Linked DNA regions of Homo sapiens: regions 2, 3, 4 and 5 are each linked to region 1. The links are contacts of gene promoters, found by promoter capture Hi-C in human tissues and cell types (Jung and others, 2019). All regions are on one chromosome and are shown on one strand. Each heading gives the region's core, a stretch centred on a gene start or on the middle of the fragment in contact. The rest is flanking DNA. Distances are from core to core; before and after follow the strand shown.

The links. The method cuts DNA at HindIII sites, captures the fragments that hold promoters and counts their contacts. A contact is called where the count stands out against the background at its distance.
Region 2: a contact is called between a fragment that was not itself captured here and the fragment with the promoter of TMEM154 in region 1, in 1 of the 25 tissues and cell types used here (dorsolateral prefrontal cortex).
Region 3: a contact is called between a fragment that was not itself captured here and the fragment with the promoter of TMEM154 in region 1, in 1 of the 25 tissues and cell types used here (lymphoblastoid cells).
Region 4: a contact is called between a fragment that was not itself captured here and the fragment with the promoter of TMEM154 in region 1, in 1 of the 25 tissues and cell types used here (lymphoblastoid cells).
Region 5: a fragment that was not itself captured here is called in contact with the fragment with the promoter of TMEM154 in region 1 in 1 of the 25 tissues and cell types used here (lymphoblastoid cells).

What each region holds. Positions count from the first base shown.
Region 1 is chr4:152,678,048-152,683,086 of GRCh38, reverse strand. It overlaps TMEM154 (transmembrane protein 154), which reads left to right and starts at 3,090. Exons shown (of 7, transcript NM_152680.3): 1 at 3,090-3,217. The coding sequence starts at 3,154. It overlaps LOC105377495 (a long non-coding RNA gene), which reads right to left and starts at 3,002. Exons shown (of 4, transcript XR_939359.3): 1 at 2,783-3,002; 2 at 2,414-2,500; 3 at 1,947-2,012; 4 at 1,425-1,724. RefSeq lists enhancers at 3,007-3,316, 2,627-3,456. The HindIII fragment of the contact is 4,840 bases long and covers 1-4,761 here.
Region 2 is chr4:153,047,161-153,052,199 of GRCh38, reverse strand. No RefSeq gene overlaps it. Among named protein-coding and RNA genes, the nearest start is that of FHDC1, 110 kb to the right of the region's middle. The HindIII fragment of the contact is 3,773 bases long and covers 253-4,025 here.
Region 3 is chr4:152,343,087-152,348,125 of GRCh38, reverse strand. FBXW7 (F-box and WD repeat domain containing 7) reads left to right here. Exons shown (of 14, transcript NM_001349798.2): 6 at 1,055-1,196. Among named protein-coding and RNA genes, the nearest start is that of FBXW7-AS1, 7.9 kb to the right of the region's middle. The HindIII fragment of the contact is 8,174 bases long and covers 1-5,039 here.
Region 4 is chr4:152,360,809-152,365,847 of GRCh38, reverse strand. The region is part of intron 4 of FBXW7 (F-box and WD repeat domain containing 7); the gene reads left to right. Among named protein-coding and RNA genes, the nearest start is that of FBXW7-AS1, 26 kb to the right of the region's middle. The HindIII fragment of the contact is 7,970 bases long and covers 1-5,039 here.
Region 5 is chr4:152,384,453-152,389,491 of GRCh38, reverse strand. All of the region lies in intron 4 of FBXW7 (F-box and WD repeat domain containing 7), which reads left to right. Among named protein-coding and RNA genes, the nearest start is that of FBXW7-AS1, 49 kb to the right of the region's middle. The HindIII fragment of the contact is 3,609 bases long and covers 275-3,883 here.

The DNA.
Region 1 (5,039 bases), core at 1,841-4,340:
GGACTGCAATGGTGGGATCTCGGCTCACTGCAACCTCCACCTCTCAGGTACAAGTGATTCTTCTGCCTCAGCCTTCCGAGTAGCTGGGATTACAGGTACCCCGCATCATGCCCGGCTAATTTTTGTATTTTTGTAGAGATGGGGTTTTACTATATTGGCCAGGCTGGTCTTGAACTCCTGACCTCAGGTGATCCGCCCACCTTGTCCTCCCAAAGTGCTGGGATTACAGGTATGAGCCACTGCACCCGGCCCTGAGCCTTCCTTTTATCGACTGTAAAGTTATCTCATTCCTTGGCCTGCCTTTGGGTCTGTGCCAAAATGCAGCGATGGTGGCTGACTCTCTTGCTATGGCAAGCTCTGAATTAATATCCATTGCTTGGTTTCATTTGCTTGTGCTCATTTAGTCTTCATTTATTTCCACCATGTGCATGAATGTGTGTGTGAGAGACAGCTGTGTGTGTATCTGAGTGCATGTGCACATCTGTGTGTATTGGGAATGGCAGGATCGGAGTGTGAAGAGGAACGCGGAGAAGGCTGTCTGCACCCACTGGAAGATCCTATCATTTATCTGGATTTGTTCCCTTGGAGTCCCTCTTCTTTTATGGCCCATGGAGTGGTGGTGGGGAGGGGGCGGGGGGAAGGGAGGGAGGATAGGATGAGAGTCACTTCTGTAGCACAGACAGTTGATTGTAAAAGTCACACTCCTTTGTGTAAAGTAATAAAGAGTCCCTAGACATGGTTCCCAGTGTCCCTTCCTGCCCTTCTGAACATGATGAAGCACCATACTTCTTTCCTGCTTTCAGACAGCCAATGGCAGGCTCCAAAGTGGCATTACCCCTGCCTGTGTGCCACTCACTCTGAGGTTCCCCTGTGCCCCACATCTGGGACTGAGGCCCTGACTTCCTGCCACCAGTGCATCGGGATTTAATCTGAGGCTGGGTGGCTATTTGCCTAAATTAATGGTTGCTAAAATTAAAACAGAGGTAAATAGCCCTTTACCTACCACACAGCCTCCCTGGGATTTTAACTGCAGCAAAGAGATCATTGAGGTGCTACCATTTTCTGATCAATCATGGTAATTTTCTTCCCCCTAAGATCAGCTTAATCATGCTAAGGGTCTTAGAGAGCACAGGGGTCAAAAGAAAATTACATGGTTGGGCAGGATTTCTCTGCAGCTCCAGTTTATTTTGTACCTCACTCTGATTTAGTGTTGCACTGCTCAGAAGCAATGCATAGTGCACTTGTTGAAACAGTAATGAACTGTTTGGCCATGTCATGGGGCTCAGCAGAGGTCCACAGAATAAGACAGTCTGTGGTCCAATCCACAGACACCTGACTGCAAAAGCTTCCACAGGGAGCTGAAGTTTAAGATGAAAGAAACGAAGGCTGACAACCTTGCCCTTGACAAACATTTGCCTCCAGCCTGGGATTCAACAATGTTTTAATAACATTTAATAATATTTTAATAGGGCATAAATGGTAAAATGGAGAGAACTCCCAAGCCCTGGGCCTGCTTTCTTGCACGTGTGTGTCACAGCTGCAGAAACACGTGCTTGTACAGGAATAATTGCCACCCCAACTCAGTACCAGCAGGTCTTGGAGCCCGTGATCTATTCACATGCTCAGCAAGTGTTTAATTAATAGTTCTTTCTCTGTTGTTTTCAAATCAATCACCCAGTTTTGAGCACGTCTATTTTCTCCTGCTGTTTGTTCTGTATTGTCACCTGTGGTGCAAAAAGCATATTTTATCAAGAATTGACTTAATTGCCAGTTTAAAACATTAAAGTGCATACTGTAAATCCATTAACAAACTGATCCTTACATGAATCACCAACCTATTTCTTGTGAATAATAACTGAGATAAACAGTGACTAATGACATTGAAAAGCAGCAATGCATTAAAGAAAAATTAACAGCTATGTCAGGGGCTAAGGAATTCCAGTCACCTCATACGTTTGCACCAACCAGATCACTGAAGACAAACGACGGGAAGTCATGACTCAGATGGTGATCTGCAGGGAAAGGTTTAGAGATGAGATGTGTCTGATGCCTCAACACTACCCCTCTCTCCATCTGTCTGTCTCTCTTGGCACCACGATTATGAAACTGCATTCTGAATGCTTAGGCCCTAAACCTAAACCAAGGGAAGGACCTCCAATAGAACACCCAACACACACTAATCTCCACTGTATACTAGACACAACCTTTCTGTATTGTTTCGATTGGATAGGATTTCTACCATTATTCTATTTCGTTTCTGTCCTGTTTTGTTTGTTGTCTGAGAACTTGATTGTCAAGTAAGAAGGAAGGAAGGTGAGATGCAGATTCACCCCTACCTCCACCCTCAGAGCATATTCTCCTTTGGAAATGGACCTTGAAAAGATCATTTCTCTCTGGGGAAGCAGAACATAACCTTAAGGTGTGGGTGTGGCATCCACCTCCATCTGGCGTGGGCCTTGGTGGGAGGAGGGCATTCCAGAGTGGAGAAAGGAGAATGGACCTGGCGGAGAGAAGTGGTCTGGCAGTTTTCTGATGATGCAGTTGTCCCTGCTGTCTGGGCCTGCGCTATCCAACACAGCAGCCACTAGCCACTTGGAGTTATTAAAATTTTATAAAAATTCAATAAAATTTAAATTCCATCAGCACTAGCCTCAGTTCAAATGCTCAGTGGCCAATGTGGCTGATACTGTATCAGACGGCGCAGACTTGGAACATTTCCATCAGGGCAGAAAGTTCTACAGGACAGCTTCTTCCTAGGGTCTAGGCAGCCCCGGAGCCTCACCTGGGGGATAAGCAAAATCACAGAGTGAGAATGCGTGTGGTCCAGGACCCCTCCCAGTCCCAGATACCGAACGACATCTGAGCAAGGGACTCTGTTGCCCCGGGGACGGTTTCAAAAGCTGGAGGCCGGGACTCCAAAGGGCTGGAGAGGCGTGATAATAGAACCAGTGCTTCAACAGCAACTTCTCTTTTGCAATCCTTGCTGGTCTGACAGGCTCCTGCAGAATTACATCACTTCCTAAAAAACAGGCACACACCTCTCCTTCAAGTCAGCACCGACCCAAACAAGCAGGAAACAGGAAATGTTCACGTTTCAGAGAGGCTGCAGCCCGGCGCAGCATCCTGAGCGCGCCTCTGCCGAGGCGAGCGGACATGCAGGCTCCCCGCGCAGCCCTAGTCTTCGCCCTGGTGATCGCGCTCGTTCCCGTCGGCCGGGGTAAGCCGCCTCCACTTCCTACTCCTGGGAAGGAGGATCGCAAAAGCTGGTAGGGTGCCCGAGGCTACAGAACTCTGCCGGGGAGGGTGACACCCAGAAAATCTAATCCTTTCTGTGAAAGAAGTGGAGAAAATTAGAACTCCTTTTTTTGGGGGGTGGGATGGAGAGGGGACTTCGCTTTCGCTGCAGCTGTCTAAACTGGCTACAGCTCTCACTTCATTTAACCCTCTTTCAGTCTTTGTCTTCCAGGAAGTGTGCGTCCCTGTAATTTACCAGCTTTAATGGGCATATTAAGAAAACCATAAACTTTTTGGCAGTTTATGTAAAAAAAAACAAAAGCTTCAATTGGCTGAAACAGAGACATGATTAATTTGCTTTTTATGGTGTGGGCTGAGAAGTCTGCTGATTCCAAAATCTCCTGGAAAAACTGGGGTGTGAAAATTTACTACTAGAAAGCATACTAAAGAAACGACATAAACTTAAAAAAAAAAAAAGGAAACGGGAAATTATCCGAAGAGCTACCAAAGAGCTATGTGTTAGAGGGTAGCCCTCTAACACATCAAGTAAGGTCTTTCATCTACTTTTATTGCACCTTGTTACTTTTACAGATTTTTTTTTTGCATTGATTGTTACTAATGAAGATTTGTTTGAAAAAGTAATATGATTGGAACCAATCAAAGGTATTGGAAAAAACAATATTGAATCTCATTATTATGGGCTAAAAGCAACAACTGATTTACACCCTTGCCAGTTGCTACAACAAGCACAAGCACCTTCAGCTGCCTCTCTTGTTGACTTGCCTTTGGGCAAATACACTGGCTGCCCATTGTTTCTGTCAATGAACACCGACTGCTTCTAGTGTAGGGCAGTATTTACCAAGCAAAAGGAAAGTTCTCAAGCTACAGTTCTTTAGATAGAATGAGGGACATCAGCCCCAACCTAACAGATGTGACAACTTCCTGGAGGTCAGCAGCCAGCACCCAGCCACCCCACTCCATCAATTTCTCTTCCCCTGGGTGTTCTCCATGTGGTCCCCCAGGCATCTGAGGTAGAAAACAAAGTGGAAGGCAAATCATTCCAGCTGAAAAGATGTCTGGTTAAATTGAGTTTAGTGTTCAGAGTGGGTTTGGAAGTTGATGTGTTGTTTTATGCCCAGTGTTTTGGAGCTGGAAGGGAACTTGAAGATGATGCAGCTCAAACCATATTGGGCACACAGGTGAAGAAACAGAGGTGGAAGAAGGGAGATGTCTGGGTCTTGCTGCTAGTCAGCTCTTCTGGCTTCTACTCCAGAGTTCTTTGAGCTCCTCCACCCCCCACCACCACTGCCCCCCTCCCCCCACCGCCGCCCCGGAACCAATCACTGTCTCTGCCAAGAGCTCTGGAACCTTTCGTAGTAGGACATCAGGGAAGAAAAGCCTAGCCATCCTCCTTCCACCTCTTCTATTGCACAACACTGCCACAGGTGCCTCAAACACTCCCTTAATACTAATTCATCTTGCCTGAACTTTTTTTTTAGCTTCTAAAAAATGATTGAGTCCTAGTGTCTGCAATTCAGGAGATGCAAAAAGAGAATCTGAAGAGACTTGGTTAAAGTTGCCTTTCTGACACCTGAATCTGATCGTGCACATCTTCCCCCTTAAGGACCCCTCATTTATGCCCCTTCACTTGTTCCTCATTTTTGCCCCTTAGACTCTCACTGCAACCTCCTTCCCAGTGGCACCTCCTTCCAGTTGTCGTCCCCCTCCGTGGCTCTTGCCTATAATGAATACATTCTTTTTCCTACCTAGCAAATTCTTGTATCACCTTAAAAGTATCAAACTAA
Region 2 (5,039 bases), core at 890-3,389, 370 kb before region 1:
TGCTGATAGTAGCACTAATCATAGTAGCCAAAAACTGGGGCAAAAATGAAATATTCAACAATAGAGTTGATGTGGTTTGGCTGTGTCCCCACCCAAATCTCATCTTGAATTGTAGTTCCCATAATCCTCACATGTCGCAGGAGGGACCTGGTGAGAAGTAATTTAATCATGGAGGTGGTTACCCTCATGCTATTCTTGTGGTAGTGAGTGAGTTCTCACAAGATCTGATGGTTTTATAAGGGGCTTTCCTCCCTTTTGCTGGGCACTTCTTCTTGTTGCCACATGTGAAGAAGGATGTGCCTGCTTCTCCTTCCACCATTATTGTAAGTTTCTTGAGGCCTCCCCAGCCAGGCTGGATTGTGAGTCAATTGAACCTCTTTCCTTTATAAATTACCCAGTCTTGGATATGTCTTTATTAGCAGTGTGAGAATTGACTAATGCAAGAATGGATAAAAAATTATCATAAATTCATACAATGGAATACTATGTATCAATGATAATAAAGAAGCTACAACTACATATAATGGTATGGATAAAGCTTACAGATGCAATGTTGAATAAAAGATGTCTAACACAGAAGAATAAGTGTTACATAGTCATATAGATTTCCAAACCAACACCCTGGGCAGGGTGGCTCACACCTGTAATCCCAACACTTTGGGAGGCCGAGGTGGGCGGATCACCTGAGGTCAGGAGTTAGAGACCAGCCTAGCCAAGATGGTGAAACCCCATCTCTACTAAAAATACAAAATTCAACCGGGCATGGTGGCACATGCCTGTAATCCCAGCTACTTGGGAGGCTGAGGCAGGAGAATTGCTTGAACCCGGGAGGTAGAGGTTGCAGTGAGCCAAGTTGGCACCACTGCACTCCAGCCTGGGTGACAGAGCAAGACTTCGTCTTGGGTTGGGGGTGGTGGGCAGAAATCATTCAGTAGTGTCAGAAGTCAGGGCAGTGGCGAGCGGGGGCAGGAGGGGCTAATAATGATCTGGGTGCTAGACACATGAGTGCATTCATTTTGTGAAAATTCGTCAAGCTGTACATTTATGATGTGTGTACTTCTCTCCAGATGGTATACTTCAATAAAACGTCCACTGAAAATATAAAGTTCACACCTGTAATCCTAGCACTTTGGGAGGCCAAGGTGGGTGGATTGCTTGAGGCCAGGAGTTCAAAACCAGGGTAGTCAACATGGCATAACCCCATCTCTACTAAAAATACAAAAACCAGCCAGGCATGGTGGCGCATGCCTATAATCCCAGCTACCCGGGAGGCTGAGGCAGGAGAATCGCTTGAACCCAGGAGGTGGAGGTTATAGTGAGCCGAGATCACACCATTACACTCTAGCCTGGACAGCAGAGTGAGACTCTGTCTCAAAAAAAAAAAAAAAGAAAAAGGTAAAGTACATATTAGTTTAGCTTTTTATTATTATTTTAAAAAGTGGTTTAAGAGTATCCAACCTAAAAATTTAGGGAAAACTTATCAGGAGGGTGAGGACTTTAATTACTAAAAAATTATACTTTTTTTCTGGGAAAAAAATAATAGCTATGAAGAAGACTTTGCATTCAAGAAATAGAGGCTGTAATCAAGGCAACATGGTATTGACACGAGAATATTTAAATAAATCCATAGAACAGAATCAAGAGCCCAGAAACAAACCTACACATATACAATATGTGACAAATCACATAGTTGATTCATGACAAAGGCACCCTGTCAATAAATGGTCCTGGGTCAAGCATATATCTATATGGGAAAAATGAACTTTCATACTTGCTTAATACTACACATAAAAATTAATTCAAAATGGGTTATAAGTCTTAATGTGAAAGGTAAAAAATACAGCTTCTAGAAGAAAACATAAATGAATATTTTCTTTCTTTTTTTTTTCTGAGACAAAGTCTCCTTTTGTTGCCCAGGCTGGAGTGCAATGGTGATCATGGCTCACCATAGCCTCAAACTGCTGGGCTCAAGTGATTCTCCCATCTCAGCCTCCTGAGTATCTGGGACTACAGATGCGCATCACCATGCCTGGCTAATTTTTGTATTTTTTTGTAGAGACTTTCACTGTATTGCCTAGGCTGGTCTCAAACTACTGGGCTCTAGTGATCCTCCTGCCTTGGCCTCCCAAAGTGCTGAGATTATAGGCATGAGTGAACGTGCCCAACCAAAAAGAATATTTTCATGACCATAGGGGTAGTCAAAGATTTCTTAAGTAGAACGGAAAAGTCACTAACTATTAAAAATTAAGGTTGATCAATGGGCTACATTAAAATTAAGAAACTTCTCTTCACCAAAATATATATTAAGGGAGTGAAGAGGCAAACCACGGACTGAGAGATATTCATATAGATATATCTGATAAAGCATCTATGTGCAGAATATGTAGCGAGCACCTTCAAATGAAAAAAGATAAATAATCAAAATTTCTAAATGAGCAAGAGATTTAAACAGGTACCATCTTAGCCCATTTTGTGTTGCTGTAAAGCAATACTTGAGACTGGGTAATTACCAAAAATAAGCAATGGGGAAAGGACTCCATGTTTAATAAATGGTGCTGTGATAACTGGCTAGCCATATGCAGAGGAATGAAACTGGACCCCTACTTATCACCATATGCAAAAAGTAATTCAAGATGGATTAGAGACTTAAATATAAGACCTCAAACTATAAGAATCCAAGAGGAAAATCTAGGAAATACCTTTCTCGACATCACCCTTGGAAAATAATTTATGCTAAGTCCTCAAAAGCAATTTCAACAAAAACAAAAATTGACAAGAGGTTCTGCACAACAAGACAAACTATTAATGCAGTAAACAGACTACCTACAGAATGGGAGAAAATATTCACAGAACTCTGCATCTGGCAAAGGTCTACTATCCAGAATCTATAAGAAGCTTAAATTGATTCATGACAAAGGGACTCTGTCAATAAATGTTCCTGGGTCAAGTGTATATCTATATGGGAAAAATGAACTTTCATACCTGCTTAATGCTACACACAAAAATTAATTCAAAATAGGTTATAGGTCTTAATGTGAAAGGTAAAAAATACAGCTTCTAGAAGAAAACGTAGATGAATATTTTCTTTCTTTTTTTTTTCTGAGACAAAGTCTCCTTTTGTTGCCCAGGCTGGAGTGCAATGGTGACCATGGCAAAAAACAGATAACCCCATTAAAAAGTGGGCAAAGGACATGTATTTCTTCTCAGAAGACATATATGTGGCCAACAAACATGAAAAAATGCTCAACATCACTAATCACCAGAGAAATGCAAATTAAAACCACAGTGAGATACCACCTCAAACCACTCAGAATGCCCTTTGTTAAAAAGTAAAAAACATAACAGATGTTGGCAGGGCTGTGGAAAAAAGGGAACACTTACACACTGTTGGTGGGAATGTAAGTCAGTTCAGCCACTGTGGATAGCAGTTTGGAGATTTTTCAAAGAACTAACAGTTAACTATCATTTGATCCAGCATCTCATTATTGGTATATACTCAAAGGAAAATAAATTGTTCTGCCAAAAAGAGGCATGCTCCCATATGTTCATCACAGCACTATTCACAATACCAAAGACATGGAATCAACCCAGGTGCTCATCAACAGTGGATTAGATAAAGAAAATGTGGTACATATACACCATGGAATACTATGCAGCCATAAAAAGAATGAAATCATGTTCTTTGCAGCAACATGGGTGCAGCTGGGGCCATTATCCTAAGTGAATTAATGCAGGAATAGAAAACCAAATACCATATGTTCTCACTTATAAGTGGGAGCTAAACACTGGGTAAACACAGACAGCAAGATGGCAACAAAAACCACTGGGGATTCCAAAAGGGAGGAGGCGAGGACAAGGGTTGAAAAACTACCTATTGAGTACTGTGCTCTCGCTTCCTTGGTGGCGAGTTCAATCGTACTCCAAATCTCAGTATCACACAACATACCCATGTAGCAAATCTCTACACGTACCCCTTGGATCTAAAATAAAAGTTGGAGTTAAAAAAAAAAAAGTACAGCACCCAGCCATTCATGAGCAATCTGCCCCCATGACCCAAACATCTCCCATTAGGCTTTATCTTCCAACACTGCCACACCGGGTATCAAATTTCAACATGAACTTCAGTGAGGACAAACAAACCATATCCAAACCATGGCAGGTACTTTGCAAACGAGGATACCCAAATGGCCAATAAGTATATAAAAGTTACTTAACGTCAGTATGCATCAATAGATGCGCAGACAAATCGCAATGAAATACTGTCATACACCCGCCTGAATGACTAAAATTAAAAAAGCAATGAGGCAAAGTGTTGACAAGGTACTGAGTATCTGGTGCACTCATACTTCACTGGTGGGGGTGTAAATTAGTACAATTTGGAAACCGTTTAGCAGTATCTGCTATAGCTAAACTATGTCTACCCTGGGACCAAAAACTCCCACTAGGTATACAGTCTAGAGAAATGAGTTTGCCCTCTAAAAGACATGTACAAGAATGTCTATAACAGCTTAATTCAAAATAGCCAAAAATTGGAAAAAACTCAAATGTCCATCACTAGTGGAATGAATAAAAAATGAGGTATTCATACAATAGAAAACCACAGCAATAAAAAGTAACTACTGCTACACACGACATGAAAGGATCTCACAGACATGTGAGATAAGCAAAAGAAGTCCAAAACTAAAGAGTACATACTGAGGCCAGGCGCGGTGGCTCACGCCTGTAATCCCAGCACTTTTGGGAGGCCGAGGTAGGCAGATTGCCTGAGGTCAGCAGTTCGAGACTAGCCTGGCTAACGTGGTGAAACCCCGTCTCTACTAAAAAAATACAAAAATTAGCCGGGCATGGTGGTGGGCACCTGTAATCCCAGCTACTCGGGAGGCTAAGGCAGGAGAATTGCTTGGACCCGGGAGGTGGAGGTTGCAGTGAGCCAAGATAACACCACTGCACTCCAGCCTGGGTGACAAGAATGAAACTCTGTCTCAAAAAAAAAAAAAAAAAAAAAAAAAAAAGAGTGTATACTGTATGATTCCATTCAT
Region 3 (5,039 bases), core at 1,079-3,578, 330 kb after region 1:
AGTAATTTATCAGAGTTTGATTGTTAACTATTACGATGCAATTTGTAAGTGTTCTTTGAATTTAAAATAATTAATCAACATAGCTCAATGAATTGAGTGAGAATTTCTTTTCAAATATAATTTTGTTAAACCAGACCTTCCTGCTGCTTTTTTTCCAAGGTCTTTAAAATGGATACCCAATATTTACCTTGAGTTTAGTTTAATTACATGCAGAAATTAGAAAGGAAAGTTTAATACGTTAGTAATATAGTTATATATTCTTTCTGCTATTAATTGGTCATTTTTAGGGTAGTTAGTTTTAGAGAGATCATCTAGTCGTCCTCATTTTACTAGTGGCAGAATTGAATTTCAAGTTTGTTTGAGACAGTTAAATCTCAAAATTTAAATTATTGTATAAAAATGTTTAGATGATCTTATTTAGTTTTGCATATAAGTTCTTAATACTTACCTGTTTTGAATAAATGTATTTCTAATCAAGACTGAGTCCTGTCAACTATTCAGACCAAACTTTATAAATAGCAGTAAAAAATTAGAAATATTATAGACAATTTTGAAGGCATCTGAGGCAAACTTAAGGAATAATGTGATTCTTGAAATTCAAAACATTTGAACATAGTATTTCTATGTCTGAGTTTTTTAAAGCTTTAATAAAGTATCACAACCCTTTTTATAAAGAAAATTTAAACTTTACTTATGTCACCAAAGACCAGTCATAGGAGAAGTGGGACTTGTATGTTCTAAGGAAATATTTTAACTTTATTTGTATATATTAACAACTTGCAGTTTTGTCATGGAGATTCTGTTATTTGGTTGCAATTAGCATTTCTGGGATAATAACAGGCGTTATATAGGAGGGAGGAAACTTACTGTAAGAATAGCAAATAGGTTTTGTGTACCTGTGATCTCTGGGAAGAAAGGTAATTAATTGATGTTTGAAATATGCCAGATCATCATTCTTTGTACTAGAATCTATTATTAATAAGTATCTATCTTTGCTTTCACTTTTGTTTTTTTCCTTTTATCCTTTCTCTCTCTCTTTTTTTTTTTTTTGTAGTACCACTGGGCTTGTACCATGTTCAGCAACACCAACAACTTTTGGGGACCTCAGAGCAGCCAATGGCCAAGGGCAACAACGACGCCGAATTACATCTGTCCAGCCACCTACAGGCCTCCAGGAATGGCTAAAAATGTTTCAGGTGACATATCTAAACATAGTACTTGAAATGCCTCACTTAATTGCTGCAAAATAAGGGATTATTCATCCGTAAAAAAAGAAGGAAACACTGTTACATAGTATACTGTGGATGAATTTTGAAATCATTCTGCCAAGTGAAAGAAGCCAGACACAAAAGGCCACATGTTGATTCTCTTTATATGAAATGTCCAGAATAGGCAAATCCATAGAGACAGAAAGTAGATTAATGGTTGCCTGACAATGAGGGGAGGAGAAGGACTAACTGCCAGTAGGTACAGATTGTCCTTTTGGGGTGATGGAAGTGTTCTGGAATTGGATAGTAGCGATGGTTGCACAGCAAGGTGAATATACTGGGAAGCACTGAAGTATATACTTGAAAATGGTGAATGTTATGTGCTGTTTATTTCAATTTAAAAATGCTATTAAAAACAAGGGAACTCAATTTTTGAATGTCATAATTGAGAAAGTCCAATACTTATTTGTGTAACTGTGCACTGACATTTTTTTTATTGCTTTTTAAATAATAAGACCTTCCTTCATCTTCTCCTTTGTTTGAATTTCTGGGTTGTCTAGTTTTCTAAACTGCATTGCTTGTAAGTTAGGCATTTAAGAGTAATTTAAGAACCATTCTAGCTAGAGTTAATACAGCTTCTTTTCTTCAGTGCCATGCTTGTATATGGCTTACCATGCTTGAATCCTGATTACTATATTTTAATAGTATTTATATTCTTTGGATGTGTACAGGGAAGATTGGTTACAACCAAACCCTGAATATTATGAACTTTATAACCTAAGATAGTGATATTACATTGATTTATCTCTTCTTCCAGTAAGATAATGCATATACATCAAGTGTTTAGCAAAATACATGGCAAGGATTAAGTACTTACTCAATTATTTGTTGCAAATAATAAATAATATAAATTATGTAAAGTAAAAAATATCTGATATTAGCCTCCATAGTAATGTAAAAAGAATATACTACCCTACCTCTGGCTGCTTGAATGGTTAGGTATTTAATCAATGCATAAGGCAATAATCGTTGGTAAAGATGATACTTTACTTGACTTTTAGTGTTTCAGATTTTTAAGGTGTTCACTTTGTAAACCCTAATATTTTAAATACCTAGATGAATATGAGATAAATGTGTCTATTTTTTTCTTCTGTAGGTAGAAAACTAACTTGGAGCAGTATTGCTTTTAAATGGTTTTTTAAAATTGTTTTCTACCCTTCAGGTGATTTCTGCAAAACTAGGATAACCTTTTTTTGGTTGGTAACTGAAAGATTTAAGCCTTGCTCTCAACAGGGATTAGTTTTTCCCCGCGTTGAGACAAAAGTGTCTCAAGACATTTTTCATTTTTATAACTGAGGGGATGGGGCGCAGGACACTGCTGGCATCTAGTAAGTAGAGGCAATACAAAGGACGATCTCCATGCCAAAGAATTATCCAGCCCAAAATGTCAATGGTACTAAAGAATCTGGGTTAGAGGAATGAAAGTTAGATTTTATTGTTATTAAAATGTTATAAGCCACTGTAATTACAAAGAATTTTTTTTAAGTTTTCATTTTCATAGTCATTTGTTGATTAAACTTACCTTTTCCCCAGGGATTATTCCTACCCTTCCTCCTGAGTTATTTTGCCTCTGGTTCATGATGGTTTGTAAAATGTTAATTAATTTTTATTTTTTCCTATGCACACCCTCAGAATTCTAAATTTTTAATTTTGTCCCATCCTTTTAAAAGGAAATTTATCCGTCAATAAGAGGCGAAAATAAAACTCGGACACTTGTATAGCCTTAAAAAAATAATTTAAAGATTTTTATCATCTCTGATTAAGCCAAAGAGGTAGGAATATGGTTGTATGTTGCCATGCTAACACATGCATGTAGTGTGAACAGCATATATCATTCTGATTTCATATCACATGATTTCACTGATTTCATATCATTTTTATAAGAAAATACCAACATGATTGAAAATTACACTATTAGCAATAGTTTTATCATCATTGTAGATAACCTCCAAAATGCTTATTTTATATGAAAAGGCTTATTTCTTTTCAGAAGGTAGTTCAGAGTAAGATTTACTTTTTCTGTGGTAGGGCTCATTTTTTCCAACGTTTTGGAATACCTGAATATTCTTTGCTTGCTATCTAGGATATTTCTCAATTTTAAAGGGACTCTGTAGTATTGATCTATAGGAAGAGGCATTTCAGCTTTATTTTAGTCAGGATATTTTAGAGAGTTCATTGTACACCGTTTGCTTGTTTAGCTAGCTTATGCTTTTTAAATAAAATGTCCAAATGTTACCGCATGCTGTATTTCATCAAATCTGAGACACCATAGTTTTTTTAGATGCATTCCAATTTCGGAAATGTTAATGTGAAAAAAAAAAAAACTGTATTCAATAAGCTAAAGAATGTTAGAATAGCTTTTGGTCCTGTAAAAGGAGTAGGTGCAGTGAAGAAAACATGTTCTTAGTTAACAGGAATAGCATGTGGAATTACCCCTGCAGGTATAGTATTATATACATTTTTTTCAGATAAATATTCTGTAGCAAAGAAATCTGTAGCAACAAAAGGTCAACTGGACAGGTAGATCAGGACCTTCATCTTTTGAGTACCATGTCTGTCTCTGACACACCCAAGGCCTCATTGTTGTACACTGCCCTTTATTTTCAGGGCTGGTCCCAGAGTAACTAGAAATGATTCACTTGCCTAAAGGCTTACTGTGCTTTAATGTCTAACTTGTAGAGATATAATTTCATAATAAAGTGGGGAGTCATGAGTTGACCTATGTGAGAGAGTTGAGGGATAATTAAACTGGCATGTTTTCTACAAATATACTGTGGGGGCATTTCATGATGACTTTTCTGTTGCATAATAAGCAGTATGGGAGAGCTTGTCCCCTTACTGTTCTGCTATTGCTCCTAAGGCAGTGATACAGCATTGCTTTGGTCCAGTTCCATCTATTCTGACAAAGTACTCTGTATTCTGTTTATAAATTGAGTATGAACAAATGATATTCCATTTTGCATAAAAGAGGACTGAAACAGAATGCCACTAGAAAATAGAAGTGCAAATTAAAGACAAAAACCAAAAAAAAAAATAGAAAGTTTATACCATTTGAATTTTCAGTAGCCATTGATCCACTTTGTATGGCAGTCAGATTGATGCTTCAGTTAATTTAGGGAAGCGAGTTGGTCATTTTTTTGGCTTGTTTATATCATTCAGGTGCTAATAAATGGTTTTTCACTTAAACTTTTCAGACTGGGTAAAGACATTAATTACATGAACATTATCTTATATTGAAATTTGTATTCAGAAGCATCTTGAGAATAGCACAAATGACATAGAAGGACAAGTTCTTAGTTCAAATTTTGACATTGTCTCTTAAAAACAATAATTTCATTAATATATAACCATTCTTGCCTTTATTTTCACGCTCTATAAAACACATAACATTAAAAAGTTGTCAAAGGGGAAAAAACATGTACATCTGCTTAAAGTTATACTTGGAAATATATTGGAGACTCAATAAATGTTAGTTTCTTCCCTTGGTCAAGAAATAATCTTAGTGGACCTCAGAAATTTTCTCAGATCTAAAAAGGGACCGTTAACACTAGCTTCACAGTATTGCTATGAGGATCAAAGATAAAGTGATATGGAAGAACTTTAACCTTACACAGATGCCATTAGCTTTACATTATTTTAATTAAAGCATATTGGAATTAAGCTATTTATGTACTTTGAAAAGATGTTATACTAAAAATATTTTTAAATGATAAGTATAAAATACATGTGTTTTGATATTAAAAATGGAGAAAAAACTTCTCCATTGGAAGA
Region 4 (5,039 bases), core at 1,440-3,939, 320 kb after region 1:
TCACACTGTAACAAGGTGTTGGCTTCAAGCACTGGGAAATCAGAGATAGCCTGTATACAGATAATTCACATATTTTCATCTCCAACCCAGACCTTTCTTCTGGGCCAGAACCAGTTGGAGCATGAGATTTGGATACCCAGTTATCTCCAAGATATCTCAAGATCCTCCTCACCCCTGGCCCCCAGAAAACAAAAAACAACCAACTAACCCAGTCCTTGTTATCCAATTGCACAAGTGAGAAAACAGGTGTTATCTTTGATACCTTCCTCTTTTTTACTTGCCATGCATGACCCATCTGTTACTATCCTATCAGTTTGATGTCCTAAATGTCTCTTAACTGCCCACTCCTATGCATCTCTGTTTCTACCTAGCTAATCGAAGCCATCATTATCTCTTGCCTGGTCTAGTGGAATAACTTCCTCACACAGTCTCTCCACATCTACTCTCAATCACTGCCATTCTATTTTCAGCATTACACTTTGAATGATTTTTTTCAAGAAATAACATCTGATTATATCTTTTTCTTAACTACTATGCAGCATTAGCTTTTCATTACTCTTATGGTAAAACCCAAAATCCTTTGAGGTCTTGGGTAATGTATCCCTTGTCTACTTCTTCAGCCTCATCTTACACCTGCCATCCTACCTCTGTTCAGTGTCCTCTAGCTATAGGTGGTTATCCCTCCCTGCTCCGAACCTAGCTCAGTCATTCATTCAGCGAGAAGATGCCTTCTGTGAACCCACAGACTAGGTGGAAACCTCACCATTCTTAACACTCTTCGAACACTGCAGCATTTACCACAGTTGCAGTTTTGCTTTGTTTTGTCTCATTATCTTGCCCACTATGCTGTGAACTCCAGCCATGAAACAGACACAAGACTTAGTTTAGCTTATGTTAGGCAACTAAGTAACTATTATATTGAATGAATGGGAGTATCTGTGGCAGACTGAAATAACCATGTAAATCTGCATGTGTTGTAATTATGTATATTAGGTAGAATATAATTATGGAGATACTTGAGACAAAGTGTAGGGTAGAATCACAGAGATACATATGTTTCAATACAGATGTTCACTGTTAGGAATGATAACCATACATGGATCAAATGGACAATTAATGAAGATGGATTGGCTCTTTAAAAAAGGCCTTATGTAATGAAGTTAAGAAACAGGGCCCAAATGATAGCCACATATTGAAAAGCATGTGCTCTATGTATTCAGATGGAAAATCCTGTGTATTTGTTACTACTTGGTTAGTAAGTCAAGTATTTTTAGGCTGTGTACTAAAAAAATTTTCAATGAAGAAGTCATAGTCCCTTATTAAGTGTATTTGGGTTTGAGTAATCAACAAAGAACATTTGAAGCAGTTTCTTTCATAAATATTATGATTCATAACTTTTGCCAGTTTTCCATAGGGTTCAAATCATTTTGGTAAGGAGGAAAAAACCTAGTAGCTTCGTTGAAAGGACACTGCAATGGAGATCCTTTGATGTTTGTGTTTTCAGCTCTCTTTTATTTCATATTTTAGGGAAATAAAGCAGGACATGAAGGAAGGAGAGTAAGACATAGAAGTCCTGAGAGGGTTTGGGAAAAGGAAGCAAAACCCATTTGTTGTTGTGTTTCTTCCAGTATGCCCACTGATGACTGCCTGGCCTCAATATAATGTCACAGATTATAAGAGCAGTTCTTAACCAAGCGGAGCCACTGGCAGTAGTGTATTAACTTGTTGTCAAGCTGCTCCTGGTGAATTCCCAGAAATAAAGTGTATCACAGTACACAATTAGCTGCATAGTCCGTCTCTTCTTTCTGCAAGTCTGCAGTGGCTCTAGTGTGGATTTCATATTCACATCACACATTTGCATACTGAAATAACTAAGAAAACATCTTAGAGATATTTAAACTGCCAATATTTCTTGCTTTGTATATAGAGAACCCTATTTTTATTTTTTTGTAAACTGAAGACCAGGACTTCCTTAGGTTCAAATCCCATCTACCTTAAGTGACCTTGGGGTCGCTTAAAACTCTCTGTGCCTCTTTCCTCATCTGTAAAATAGAGATAATAATAGTACTTTCTGCAGAAAGTTGTTAAACCGTTTCATTGAATTAATATAAGAAAAACACCTAGGAAGAGTGCCTGACATATAGTGAGTTTCCTTCCCTGTATACATTGTATTCTTAAGAAAACATCTTTTTGAAAAGGAGTTGCTTATTCAAACTGGAATAAAGTTTGCAGCATCTTTGATAGTGGGCACTGAAAGAGCATTCAGGTCAGTTTAAAATCTAGTGTTTATTTTTCTTGTATACATTTGGTTTAAAATATTGCCATGTGCATTTCTTGAAAATATTATCTCTTCCTCTTTCTAGTTGTATATATTGTCATACAAATTAAGCAGTTTCACTTATTAGTCAAATGGATTTGTCATTTTTTATTGACTTGCCTGTCCTTCCCTCCTGAGTTGGGAGTGCTTCCAGGATAGATATTACATCTTGCTCAATTTTGCATCTTTTTTGCTTAGTGCTTGGCTTTTAGTAACCCTGGACAAATATTTCTAAAATGTGGTAGATCTAGATCTAAAAATATAACATTTGAATCACTGCTTAATTTTTTCTCCCTCTTGTTTTATTGTTTAGAAAATGGAGAATCATTATATGACTCAGGATTCATTTGGATGAGACTGATAATATTATAATGGAATTTGGAGTTAGAGGCTCACATGAATTGCTCTCAGTCACTAGCTTTTTCTGTGCTACCTATAAATGATAAACAAATATTGTGAATCTCACAAAGTTAAAGTCTTTGAAATAAATGGATTGGTAGGGGGTAAATTACATCTTAGTCTAACAAAATCTGTTTATTGCAATGGTTTAATAAAAGTCAGGTGACTAAAAATATCTTGGAAAATACCACTTAATTTTAATCTTTGCTGTTTATGTTGTGATCATGATGATTAACATATCTTCATTTATCTTCTCTTGAAAACTATTCCAAGTTCTTGTTGTTTTTTTTTTTTTTTTTTTTTGAGAGAGAGAGTTTCACTCTGTTGCCCAGGCTGCAGTACAGTGGTGCAATCTTGGCTCACTGCATCCTCTGCCTCCCGGGTTTGAGCAATTCTCTGCCTCAGCCTCCCAAGTAGCTGAGATTACAGGTGCCCACCACCATGCCTGGCTAATTTGTTTTATATTTTCAGTGGAGACGGGGTTTCACCATCTTGGCCAGGTGATGGCCTGGTGAACTTGATCTTGAACTCGTGACCTTATGATCCACCTGCCTCAGCCTCCCAAAGTGCTGGGATTACAGGCATGAGCCACTGCGCCCGGCCCTAAGTTCTTTTTTAATATGCTAAGTTGTCTGTTGTTGGAATGACTTTAAAGGAAAGGTTTAAAATGAAGAAAGGAATATGTGTGTGTCTTCTTTATCATCTCATGAACTAAAAAATACTGGAATTTTAAGATTACACTAAAGTTCAGCATCCTTTTGCTAGCTTTGAATTGATATTCTTTTGGGTAGATTTAGACTATTCCTCATAGGATTTTTTCATATTGTATAATTATGAACATACATTGACTCATAAACTTAGATTTTAAGAAATCTAAGATTTAGCTTTAAAAAGTGGTCTCAATTTACCATGTAGCAGTTCGTAACAGACCACAGCTATATGCACTTGTTCATATCAGGAGCAGTTCTTAATTTTAGTTATAATTCATATTTGTTTAATAGTCATCATTCCATCATTACATACCATGCCTTCATGCAACTGGTGGGAAACTTATGATATTCATTCCACATAAAGGAGTTTTTAGAATCATGTATTAAATGTGATAAGCTTTCTTTTTTCTTTTCTTTTTTCTGTTCTGTTCTGTTCTTTTTTTTTTTTTTTTTTTTGAGATGGAGTCTAGCTCTGTCTCCCAGGCTGGAGTGCAGTGTTGCAATCTCGGCTCACTGCACCCTCCACCTCCCGAGTTCAAGCAATTCTCCTGCCTTAGCCTCCCAAGTAGCTGGGATTACAGGTGCACACCACCATACCCGGCTAATTTTTGTATTTTTAGTAGAGTCGGGGTTTCACTCTTGGCCAGGCTGGTCTCCACCTCAAGTGATCCACCAGCCTTGGTCTCCCAAAATGCTGGGATTACAGGTGTGAGCCACCATGCCTGTCAAAAGTTAGTTTTCAAACATTTGGAGGTCTCAAGTGTTTATAGGTAAATATTTTTTAAATCATGTGCTAAAATAAATTTTAAGAAAGTGAATCTGTAAATAAAATATTTCTATGAGAATGTTGAGAAGATAGCAAAGTGCTTCTAACTATCAGTCTTACAGTTCACTGCACATAAAAGACAAATATACATTCAGATACCTTTTCAAGTTAAGTTGTCTTGAAAATATTTATTGACCTTCAGAGTCTTTTGGAATCTCCTAAACAGGTAGGGAATCATGTAAGTATTTGCTAGTCATAGAATTCTTGATTTTTTTTTAAAGCAAATAATGTAATTTGTTAAAGTATATATATGTATATAGGAAGTACTTTAAAATTTAAATTAATGTTTTAAAAATGAATAGAATCCTCTTTTTAAAATGTAGTGGGGGCCTGATTACTATGTTCTTCCCTACTCACTTGACAGCTATGTCAAACACTTGAATACTTAAAGAACAAGCAAGCTACATAAAAACAAAGAATTGATTAAAGATCACCATGAGGCACACTTTCTAGAGCAAGAATCCAGTGTTATTTTTGTTTCTCACTGGCCTAGCACCAAAACAAAATAGGTACTCAATAAATATTTTTGAATTAGTGAAATCAGTTTGAATTCACAGACTTTGATTCATAACTAGAGTTTTAAAAGATTGGTTCAAGTTATGCCTTGTCATTTTGAATTCTTCTGGAAAATTAGTAAGATGCTTGATGAGAAGAGATGCCTATATTTTAAAAAGTGCAGTAAGTATGAATCTGGACTTTCTGTATCTGCCAGCCAAATGTTGGCTGGCATTTTACTATATTTTATATATATATATATATTTAATATATTTTAATATATTTTTCTAGG
Region 5 (5,039 bases), core at 830-3,329, 290 kb after region 1:
TGAAGAATCACCTCCAATTCCATCCATGTTGCTGCAAAAGACATTTCATTCTTTTTTATAGCTGAATAGTATTCCATTTGTGTGTGTGTGTAAACATATATATATGTGGGTTAGTTATCATAGTTGACTTAAAGTTATAACTATTATAATCACCAACTAAATTCTTGGGCATCTTTAAAATAATGATTTCTTTTCTTTTGGGTAGATGCCCAGTAGTGGGATTGCTGGATCAAATGATAGTTCTATTATTAGTTCTCTGAGAAATCTCCATAATGTTTTCCATAGAGATTGTACTAATTTGCATTCCCACCAACACCGTATAAGCATTTCTTTTTCTCCACATCCTCGCCAACATCTATTATTTTTTGTCTTTTTAATAATAGCCATTCTGAATGGTGTGAGATGAGATCTCATTGTGGTTTTACTTTGCATTTCTTTGATAATGATGTTGAACATTTTTTCATGCTTGTAGGCATGAAAAAATATGTATGTCTTCTTTTGAGAAGTATTTATTCATGTTCTTTTCCCACTTTTTAATGAAGTTAATTTGGTTTTTGTTGTTGAGTTGCCTGTCAATTCTGCATATCAGCCCCCTGTTAGAAGCATAGTTTGCAAATATTTTCTCCCATTCTGTAGGTTGTCTTTTCATTCTGTTGATTTAGAGATGTAATGTACTCTTAAACCTGCAAGGGACTTAATCTCAATCATCTGAAGAGAAGTCAGATAGTCTATATCTATTAAATATTTAGCCTCCTCTTTGTAGAAATCTGAAGTATAAACTCCAGGTAATTGTACTGCAAGACATTAAATAGTTAAGGTTCCTGAATCTTGGAGTTTCTGGTGTACCATGGGATGGTTTTGTCATCTGTCAACTTATAATTTATTAGCACTTGTTTTGGTTGGTTTTCTGTGTTTTACTTTTTAATTTATAATGTATTTTCAGCAAAATTTTTGGAAATAACTGGAATATAAAACAGCTTAAATGTCTAACATTGAGATGTTGATTCCATAAATCAGAGCAGTTACAATACCTTATATAATCTAGTATTCTGGCATTTTTATTTTGAGAATGCTACCTATCTGTGCATATAGGCATGTACATGCAATGCTTTTATTTTGCAAATGTCCAATTATCAGGTCACATTTTTATAACACTTGTGTATGTTGTATGTGCTGCTTCAGAACCCAAGCATATTTCTCTTAGTTAGGGGCCGCCCTTGTTGCCCAAATGAAGAAAATTAGCAGGGAAGTGCAGTATGTTGTCCATTGAATGTTTACATACATGTAATGTCTCAAATACATTATAATTGGAAGTTGTAATCTGAGTGAGCACTTTGAGCATGTAAATAAATATCTTTTAGAACATTTTTAGTAATCATTTTAAATGTGATTTTAATCTTATAAAAACATTTTAATTTATTTGACATACCTTTTGTGAATACTAAAGCTTAAAAAAAAAATACTAAAACTTTAAAAGATATCCTGACCAGGCGCTGTGGCTCACGCCTGTAATCCCAGCACTTTGGGAGGCCGAGGTGGGCGGATCACAAGGTCAGGAGTTCGAGACCAGCCTGGCCAACATAGTAAAACCCTGTCTCTACTAAAAATAACAAAAATTAGCTGGGCGTGGTGGTGGGCACCTGTAATCCCAGCTGCTCAGGAGACTGAGGCAGGAGAATTGCTTGAACCTGGGAGGCGGAGGTTGCAGTGAGCCGACATTACACCACTGCACTCCAGCCTAGGCAACAGAGCAAGACTCAGTCTCAAAAAAAAAAAAAAAAAAGGTATGCCATGTTTTTTTTCTTTGATGCCCAATCTAATTGTATTTATGTTTCTGCATTTAAAGTAATATGTTGCTTGCTGGATGTTTTTTTTTTTTTTTTTACAGTTTTTGCTAATACAAGCTTGATAATTTATCATTAAGCAGAGGGTTTAATTTATTGATTTATGATTGTTTTCCTCTGTGTTTAAATTGTTCCGTCTTCAACCATGAATTGCGTTCATTTGTGAATTGCTTGGTAGGGAAATACTTTAATACTCTGATATCTATGATGTTAGGAAGACTAAAAACTGATTTGGTAGATAAAATAATCTGCTTTACTCTGTATCTGTGAAATAAGTGAGTATGCTTGATAATACCATATTATCTGATCAGAAGGATTTTGATTCTGATTTATTGCACTTCAGTAATGGTATACTTTTTAGCATGTGGGACTTTCTGTTTCTACAACAGAGTAAGTCACTTGTTGCCTGAATTCACAGAAGCAGTGAATAATACTGAATTCAAATAACATACGTTGATATTATTCCTGTGAAAGTTTTTGAGGTAAGACTTTGAAAACTCTTGGTATAAAGTCAATTTGAATTTGCAGGGAGATTTACATCTTCTGAGTGATTTGTTTTAGCTGATTCAGGAATAATTTATGAAAAATGGAAAATCTTTGTGCTGCTCATATGCTGTGGCTTTGGTCAGGAGCAGTTAAATTTCTAGCCTTTTGTATAATACTGAATGAAAGAAAAGATGGAAATCCAGAGTAAATTGCTGTGATGGTATTTTTATTGTTGTTACAAGAGAATTGGAGTGCTTGGACTTGTAATGCATTTTACAGATACCGTATTGGTGATATTTTATTACATGTCACATTTATATATAATTGTTTTTACGGATGCAAATTTTTAGAAGAAAGAAAATCAGGGAGTGATAAGTGGGCAAAATAAGTTACCTTATATAAAGACCTTTTCTTTACTACAAGTTCCCTAATGTTTAGCCCATCTTGGATGATCAGTGGTATCTGGAATCTTAAAATGCCAAGACACTATGGCTAAGATACTACAGCTTCATATTTTGGCAAAAATTTTGACAGAATTATAGAAGTCTTTCTGAAACTTACAAATAATATGTTTTAAAATATTCTTTTCCAAAGTTATTATAGATGGATTTTAGAATCTGCTTTATTTCCTGGTGATTTTAAAATTGGAAATGTAATCTACAAAGCTCTATGTGATTTTTGATTCCATTAATAGTAGTAGTAATCATAATGACAGTTTAATTAACACTATCGAACACTTACTAGATGTGAGGCGTTACTCTGTATACTTATATCAACTAATTTTTAATCCTCACAACAGTCCTATGAGTACTGCCTAGGTGAACTTGAGACACGAATTAAATTAAGGTCATACCTGGTAAAGCCAGGATTTGGACTAAGTTAGTTTGGTTCTGGAGTCCATGTTCCTACCTATCATATTGCACTGCCTTATTATTTGTGGTATCATCTTTAAAAGAGCTTGTCTGTTTTTAAGAGTCTCAATTTGGGTAGTAATTAAAGAGTATCTTTAATGTTTTTAAGAGTAGAATTGAGACTCAGACTTTATCTTTTCTTGAACACATGGAATTAGCTACATTTTGAAGTATTAACAGTTGGGGTTCTTATATACCTTGTCTATGATTTCCCTCATTTATTAGGGTTTTTGTCTATATTTGAAGGTTTGTTTTTTTAGTGTTTCGTGTTGATTGGGAATATCGCATTAGAAATACTGTTACTTGAATCCTCCCAAAAAAATGAAACTTGTAGTATATATATTTGGAAATTAGTACTCACTTTGCCCAATCATTGATAATGTCTTCTTTTTCCAAAAATATATTATGACAAACACAGGATTCTGTTACAGCGTTTGGTTTGCCACAGTTGCAATGCCCTGTATTATCCAGTTGAGGGCAGCTATTTACTGATTTAAAAAAATAATAATTGAATTAGAATGTTACCCCCTTGTGCTTACCAAAACTTGGTATCCACTAAAAAACTCCACATTTGAGGTACAAACAGCCTTAATTGTGTTCACTTATGTTTTGTTTCTGTTGTCATTGTAAATTATTTCATGAAAATGAAAAGCCTAGCTTTACTTCATAGTAACTTTTGGTCTCTTAGAAACTAGAAACTGTTGATTTTAGTTTTAATTTTCCCAATCCAAGTTCTTTTCAATTCTAAATCTTTTTTCCCCCCGTTAGGATCAGACTCATTGAGATCAGGGATTTTCTTATCTTTAAAATGTCTGCATGTAAATACATGTGACTTTAGAGTTCTTTGAGGGCTTTTAAATGTAAAAGTGAAAATTTATAATATTGAATACATTATCTTTATTAACCAGTGGAATAACCACTGATGGCTAACTAGGTCTTTGATTCATTTTTCTAAATGCCAAATGAACATGTTAAACTCGTAGAATATATTACCCTCTTCTAATTTTTCTGCATTGGAGTATCACATTGTTAAAATTGTATCTTCTATGTAGTTCAGGAAAAGAAATTCAGGGGGGTTAATTATCCAATTGATTTCAAAGGTATCACTGAGACAGAATTTTTTTGAAAATAATCTCAGACTGCAGAAAACTGTTGTAATATTAACAGGTAGTGTTAGTAACTGAGATAAGGATATTCCATGGGACCTACTTTAGCAAAAGGGATTGTCTAATGAGAGAAGGACAAAATATGACATATGTTTCACAAACAAAACAATTAGTCTTATGTTGGAAAATAAAGTGAACATCTGAGGAGATGCTAAGACTAGCATGAACCTAGTATTCATTCTGCAGGATAGTAAGTTGTCTCATAGGGCTGTAGACATGGTATCTTGGATATCATTCTCACTTTTTTTCTACTACCAGTTTATAGGTTTCCAACACTCTCATATTATCTCTTCTCTCTCCTAACCTTAGATCTCTCGAGGTTTTTTTGGTGATGATTATTCCATTTTCAATCATTTACTTTTTTGTTTAAAAACATTTAAAATTTATGGTTAAATATCCATAACATGAAATTTAATATTTTAACCATGTTTAAGTATACAATTCAGTGGCACTAAATATATTTACATTGTTATACAACCATTACCACTATCCATCTTCAGAATATTTTCATTTTCTCCTACTGAAACTCTGTGCCAACTAAACACTAACTCTCATTTCCCCCTCTCCCTGTCTCAGACAACCATGATTCTGTTTTCTATCTATGCAAATTTAAGTATTCCAAGTACCTTATA